2 separate regions of the Homo sapiens genome follow, and region 2 is linked to region 1. Evidence: promoter capture Hi-C in human tissues and cell types (Jung and others, 2019). All regions are on one chromosome and are shown on one strand. Each heading gives the region's core, a stretch centred on a gene start or on the middle of the fragment in contact. The rest is flanking DNA. Distances are from core to core; before and after follow the strand shown.

Region 1 (3,718 bases), core at 435-2,934:
ACCAGGGCCACGTCACCTCCGATGGGGTGGTACATCTCATATGTGGGGTGCAGGATCACCCTGTTCACCTCATACCACTGGGTGTGGTTGCCGGCCACCCTGAGGTTTACGAGGCCTACGTACATGTCATAGATTTTGATATTCTTGTCCCTGTGGGGGTGAGAACAGAGGTACAATGCCCGCAGCTTCCTGTGTGGTCAGCCCACAGGCCTGGGGAGGCCAAGCGCAAGGGGCTGGCACTCACTCGGTGGGATTGAAAAGCCAGTTTCTTCCTGCAGCATAGTAGGGACCTATCTGGCTGTCTGGAAGAGTTGCCCCCTAAAGAGTCGACTTGGCCCATGGAGGCTCTGGGGACCCAAGTCTGTACACGACCACCAGCTGTACAGGCCAGCAGCCCATGCATGTGAGACCTGCTCTGACTCTTACTGACAACCTGGTTGCACACATCCCTCTGGAGGCCAGATGGCCACAGGAGAGGCGTGCCTGCTGTGCGGGGCAGCTGTGGTGAATGGGGCTGTTGGAGGAGCAATCGGGAAGGCCAGGTGCTTAGAGACCAGCCTTGCTTATGAGGACCTGGCTGTGCACTTGAGGAGCAGCCTCACTTTTGTGGGACCTGGCTGTGCACTTGAGGACCAGCCTCACTTGTGGGAATCTGGCTGTGCCCTTGAGGACCAGCCTCACTTGTGGGAATCTGGCTGTGCCCTTGAGGACCAGCCTCACTCGTGGGGACCTGGTCGTGCACTTAGGGGACCAGCCTTGCACATGGGGACCAGGCTGTGCATTTGAGGACCAACCTAGCTCATGGGAACCTAACTGTACACTTAGGGGATCAGCCTTGCATATGAGGACCTGGCTGTGATCTTGGGGACCAGCATCACTCTTGAGGACCTGGCTGTGCACTTGGGGGACCAGCCTCAAGAATGGGGACCCAGCTGTGTGTTTGGGGACCAGCCTCACTGGTGGGGACCTGGCCTTGCGCGGGTCGACAGTGGTGAAGGGAGTCGACAATGGTGATGGGGGAGGCTTGCGTGGGGTCCATCCAAGCCGCTGTGGGCACTCCGTGCAGGCCCAGCTACCCACACCATCCCAGGCCGGCGCCCGCTTACCTGTGAAAGCAGTGCGCAGCTGACAGCACCCAGTACTCATTGAGGATGGAGCCGCCGCAGACGTGGAGGCCTGCGTAGTGCACGCTGACCTGCCACGGCCACTTCCTCTCGGGCGCAGGGACGCCGCCCAGGATTTTCCCCTCCATGCTGGGCCGACCACAGGCTGCAGGGAGAACGGAGCTGACGGTGGAGCCATGCTGGGGCCACGGGAGAGGTAGGGCAGGCAGGGGACGTGGGGGAGGGGCAGGGGACACAGGAGGAAGGGAAGGCAGGGGACATGGGGGAGGGGAAGGGATGGGCAGGCGACATGGGGGAGGAGGCCCAGCACCGACAGACGCCCCAAGGGCACTGTCTCCAGCCGCCCATCCGCCCCTGGGGCAGGGCCTACCCACGCTGCCAGTTAGGGAGATTCCCTGGTTCTCTGGCTGTCTGTGGACCAATGCTGCGACCCGGGGAGGGGCCACCACCAGGAGCAGCAGCAGAAGGCCCAGGGCAGAGGGCCCGAGTGGGCCCATGACGGAAGCAGGGGCAGCCATGAGGCTCGAGGCAGCGCCCCCAGCGGGTGACTAGCTCCCGACATGTGACTGTGTCTCCAGCACAGGATTGCGCCCCCAACAGGTGGTTGCACCCCAACATGTGACTGGCTCCCACTAGCAGATGGCACTCCCAGCAAGTGAGGGCACCTGACCTGGACATGCGACTGCACCCCCAGCACATGTCTGTGTCTCGTGGATTTACCTCTCCCGACCTGGGCACATGATGGCTCCCAAGCTGGACATGTGACAGTGCCCCAACCATACCTCATATGCCTAGGTGTGGCATTCCATTCCACAGTCAGGTCTAAACACACTGGTCCATTTGAGAATTCTGTGTTTTGAATCGTGATGTTCTCAGTTTTCTCCATGGCCCAGCTTAATTCTGTTAGGTCAATGACAATTTATACATCTGCCACCCAGCTATCAAAAAAAAAAAAAAAAAGAAAGAAAAGAAAAAGAAATAGGCTGGGCACCGTGGCTCACACCATAATGCCAGCACTTTGGGAGGGTGAGGCAGATGGATCACTTGAGGTCAGGAGTTTGAGACTAGACTGGCCAATGTGGCGAAACCCTGTCTCTACTGAAAATACAAAAATTGGCTAGGTGTGGTGGCGTGCAACTGAAATCCTGGTTCCTTGGGAGGCTGAGACAGGAGAATCGCTTGAACCTGAGAGGCAGAGGTTGCAGTGAGCCGAGATCACACCACTGCACTCCAGCCTGGGTGACAGAGCAAGTCTCTGTCTCAAAAAAAAAAAAAAAAAAAATTCATTAAGCCTTCATTTATATCTACTAAAATTTATCCCATTGATTCTACATTATGGTGAGTTGTATAATTATTTCATGATATATTACAATGTAATAATAATAGAAATAAAGTGGACAATAAATGTAATATGCTTGAATCATCCCAAAACAATTTCCCTGCCAGGAGGCAACTTTGGAACTGGGTAACAGGCAGAGGTTGCAACAGTTTAGAGGGCTCAGAAGAAGACAGGAAAATATGGGAAAGTTTGGAATTTCCTAGAGACTTGTTGAATGGCTTTGACCAAAATGCTGATAATGATATGGACAATGAAATCCAGGCTGAGGTGGTCTCAGATGGAGATAAGGACTGGAGTAAAGGTAATGCTTGCCATGTTTTATCAAAGAGACTGGCAGCATTTTGCCCCTGCTGTAGAGATTTGTGGAACTTTAAACTTGAGGGAGATGATTTAGCATATCTGGTGGAAAAAATATCTAAGCAGCAAAGCATCAAGAGGTGACGTGGGTGCTGTTAAAAGCATTCAGTTTTAAAAGGGAAACAGAGCATAAAAGTTTGGAAAATTTGTAGCCTGATGATGTGATAGAAAAAGAAAAACCCATTTTCTGAGGAGAAATTCAAACTGGCTGCAGAAATTTGCATAAGTAATGAGGAAACAAATGTTAATGGCCAAGACAACAGGGAAAATGTCTCTCCAGGGCATGTCAAAGAGCTTTCTCACAGCCCCTCTCATCACAGGCCTGGAGGCCTAGGAGGAAAAAATGGTTTCTTGGGCCAGTCCCAGGGCCCCCATGCTGTGTGCAGCCTAGGGACTTGGTGCCCTGCATTCCAGCTGCTCTAGCCATGGCTGAAAGGGACAAAGGTACAGCTCAGGCCATGGCTGCAGAGGGTGCAAGCCCCAAGCCTTGGCAGCTTCTACATGGTGTTGAGCCTGTGGGTGCACACAAGTCAAGAACTGAGGTTTGGGGACTTCCGCCTAGATTTCGCAGTATGTATGGAAACGCCTGGATATTCAGGCAGAAGTTTGCAGCAGGGGTGGGGCCCTCATTGAGAGCCTCTGCTAGGGCAGTGCAGAAGGGAAATGTGGGGTTGAAGCCCCCACACAGAGCCCCCACTGGGGCACTGCCTAGTGGAGCTGTGAGAAGAGGGCCACTGTCCTCCAGACCCCAGAATGGTAGATCCACCGACACCTTGCACTGTTCACCTGGAAAAGCTGCAGTCACTCAAGGCCAGCCTGTGAAAGCAGCCAGGAGGGATGCTGTACCCTGCAAATCCACAGAGCAGAGCTGCCCAAGACCATGGGAACCCACCTCTTG
Region 2 (3,718 bases), core at 854-3,353, 340 kb after region 1:
GTCAGGCCATTTTTGTTCTTCTCTAAACTGATTATTCTAGTTAGCAATTCATCTAACCTTTTTTCAAGGTTCTTAGCTTCCTTGCATTGGGTTGGAACATGCTCCTTTAGCTTGGAGGAGTTTGTTGTTACCTAACTTCTGAAGCCTACTTCTGTCAGTTTGTCAAACTCATTCTCCATCCAGTTTTGCTCCCTTGCTGGTGAGGAGTTGTGATCCTTTGGAGGAGAAGAGGTGTTCTTGTGTTTGGAATTTTCAGCTTTTTTGTGCTAGTTTTGCCTCATCTTCCTGGATGTATCTACGTTTGGTCTTTGACGTTGGTGACCTTCAGATGGGGTTTCTGTGTGGATGTCCTTTTTGTTGATGTTGATGCTATTTCTTAGCTTTTTTCTAACAGTCAGTCCCCTCTGCTGCAGGTCTGCTGGAGTTTGCTGGAGGTCCACTCCAGACCCTGTTTGCCTGGATATCACCAGCAGAGGCTGCAGAACAGCAAAGATTGCTGCTTGTTCCTTCCTCTGGAAGCTTCATCACAGAGGGACACCTACCAGATGCCAGCCAGAGCTCTCCTGTATGAGAGGGGTCTGTCATCCTCTGCTGGGAGGTGTCTTCCAGTCAGGAGGCACAAGGATCAGGGACCCCTTTAAGGAGGCATCTGTCCCTTAGTAGAGCTCGAGTGCCGTACTGGGAGATCTGCTTCTCTCTTTAGAGCTGGCAGGCAGGAATGTTTAAGTCTGCTGAAGCTGTGCCCACAGCTACCCATTCCCCCGGGTGCTCTGTCCCAGGGAGATGGGAGTTTTATCTATAAGCCCCTGGTTGGGACTGCTGCCTTTCTTTCAGAGATGCCCTGCCCAGAGAGGAGGAATCTAGAGAGGCAGTCTGTCTACAGCAGCTTTGCCGAGCTGCAGTGGGCTCTGCCCAGTTCAAACTTCCCTGCGGCTTTGTTTACACTGTGATGGGAAAACTGCCTACTCAAGCCTCAGTAATGGCAGACGCCCCTCCCCCCACCAAGCTCCAGCATCCCAGGTCAACTTCAGACTGCTGTGCTGGCAATGAGAATTTCAAGCCAGTGGATCTTAGCTTGCTGGGCTCTGTGGCGGGGGTGGGGGGATCTGCTGAGCTAGACCACTTGGCTCCCTGGCTTCAGCCCCCTTTCCAGGGGAGTGAACAGCTCTGTCTCGCTGGCATTCCAGGTACCACTAGGGTATGAAAAAAAAAACTCCTGCAGCTAACTCAATGTCTGCCCAAATGGCTGCCCAGTTTTGTGCTTGAAACCCAGGTCCCTGGTGGTGTAGGCACCCAAGGGAATCTCCTAGTCTGTGGGTTGCAAAGACCATGGGAAAAGCATAGTATCTAGGCCAGAGTGCACCATTCCTCATGGCACAATTCCTCATGGCTTCCCTTGGCTAAGGGAGGGAGTTCCCCAACCTCTTGTGCTTCCCAGGTGAGGTGACACCCCACCCTCCTTTGGCTTGCTCTCCATGGGCTGTACCCACTGTCTAACTAGTCCCAATGAGATGAGCCAGGTACCTCAGTTGGAAATGCAGAAATCACCCACCTTCTCTGTTGGTCTCGTTGGGAGCTGCAGACCAGGGCTGTTCCTATTTGGCCATTTTGCCAGCCACCCCTAGTTGCTTCTTAACTTTCTACTCTGCCTCTACTTTGCCTCCCTGCTATGGTCTACTCCCCCCAAAGCAGTCAGCATAACTTCTTAAATTGAGAGCACTGCACTCCCCTGCTCAAGATATGACAAAAGTTACCCATAAAACTGGAATAAAAACTTGACTTCTTCCCATGGCCTGCAAGACAAAAGGCCCTGTGAGTTATGGCATTGCCTGTGTGATCTCATCTTCTCCATTACTTCCCTCATTTCTCACTCTGACCATGCTGGCCCCCTTGCTATATGTTCACTGAACACATATGAAACACATTTCTGTCCCAGTCTTGGCACTCACCTCAGTGCCTGTAATGTCCGTGCTCCTTCCCTTCCTCACTTTTGTCAGGTCACTTTTCAAATGTTACTTCTCTAGAGAGGCTCCTTCTCATTCGATCTAAAATTAAGAACTCCTCCAATCACTCTGTTTCCTTTTATCCCAATTTCTTTTCTTGCTATTTGCCACTACCTGAAAAAAAAAAATGTCTTCTTCATTAGGCCATAAGCTCATAAAGGCAAAAACTGTGTTCAACCTGTCCTCTCTACTCCAGCACTTAGAAGAGTGGCAGAGTCAGCATTCAGTGTTTACAGAGTGAACAACTTCCTGGCAGCATTTAGCACTGTATCACAGCCTCTATTATCTTGAATTCTTTGTTCTTTTAGTAACCTATCCTGCTTTTCCTCCTCCAATTCTACCTACATATCTGAGGGCTTGTTCCTTACATCCTGATAGTCCTTACAGGCCTATCTTCTATTCACTTTCTCTCTCTTTTTTTTTTTTAAGAGATGGGGTCTCACCATGTTGCACAGGCCACACAAAAATTCCTGGGCTCAAGCAATCCTCCCACCTCAGCCTCCCAAGCAGCTGGGACTAGAGACATTTGCTACCATGCCCAGCATGTCCACTTTCACTCTACACACTTTCTCCACATTTAAGTAGCTACTCATACTGCTCATTCATTACCTCTAGCTCACATTCAGGTTCCAGTCCGGTATATCCACATGATGACTGAACACTACCACTCTGCTATCTCACAGGGACATTAAACCTAATTCATCTACAATGAACTCCTTCTCTTCTGATCCAGCTTTCCCTCCAGCATCACCTATCTCTCTACATCTGGAAACACCATTCCTGTTTTCCTCCATCATGTGCTAAGCTTTCTGAATGGCTTGAAGCTTCATGAAAAGGCCTGTGTCTTATCCAGTGCCCATAGACAGGTTTCTTTTCAAGTGCACAGCAAAAGTGTTCTCTCCTAAACTCTAGCTGGTTGCTAACAAATCATGTATTGACCTAAGTGTTCTTCTCCTCCAGCCCAAGCAGTTGATCTTTTTCTATAGGCTTGCTGTTGAAAGGAATAAAACCCAACTGTATTAGTCTGTTCTCACACTGCTATAAAGAACCACAGAACCACTTGAGACTGGGTAATTTATGAAGAAAAGAGGTTTAATTGACTCACAGTTCTGTATGCTGTACAGGAATCATGGCTGGGAGGCCTCAGGAAACTTACGATCATGGCAGAAGGTGAAGGGGAAGCAAGCACGTCTTAACATGGTGAAGCAGGAGGGAGAGAGTAAAGGGGGAAGTGCTACACACGTTTAAATAACTAGATTTCATGAGAACTCATTCAATATCATGAGAACAACAAGGAAGAAATGTCCCTATGATCCAATCACCTCCTACCAGATCCCTCCCCCAACATTAGGAATTACAATTTGACATGAGATTTAGATGGTGACACAGAGCCAAACTATATCATCCTACCCTGGACCCTCCCAAATCTCATGTCTTTCTAACATTGCAAAACACAGTCATGCTATCCCAGCGGTCCCCCAAAGTTTTAACTAATTTCAGCATTAACTCAAAAGTCCACCTCCAACATCTCATCTGAGACAAGGCAAATCCCTTTTACCTATGAGCCTGCAAATAAACAGTTACAAGATATAATGGGGGTAGAGTCACTGGATGAATAAACCCATTCCGAATGGGAGACATTGGCCAAAATGAAGGGGCTACAGGCCCCATACAAGTCTAAAATGCAGCAGGGCAGCCATTAAGTCTCAAAGCTC

What was found. Contacts are between HindIII fragments. The study calls those that stand out against the background at their distance.
Region 2: a contact is called between a fragment that was not itself captured here and the fragment with the promoter of PRSS38 in region 1, in 1 of the 25 tissues and cell types used here (H1 embryonic stem cells).

Annotation. Positions count from the first base shown.
Region 1 is chr1:227,813,641-227,817,358 of GRCh38, reverse strand. It overlaps PRSS38 (serine protease 38), which reads right to left and starts at 1,684. Exons shown (of 5, transcript NM_183062.3): 1 at 1,495-1,684; 2 at 1,107-1,269; 3 at 1-150. The coding sequence starts at 1,642. The HindIII fragment of the contact is 13,958 bases long and covers 1-3,718 here.
Region 2 is chr1:227,471,490-227,475,207 of GRCh38, reverse strand. No RefSeq gene overlaps it. Among named protein-coding and RNA genes, the nearest start is that of LINC01641, 80 kb to the right of the region's middle. RefSeq lists an enhancer at 503-1,002. The HindIII fragment of the contact is 4,267 bases long and covers 1-3,718 here.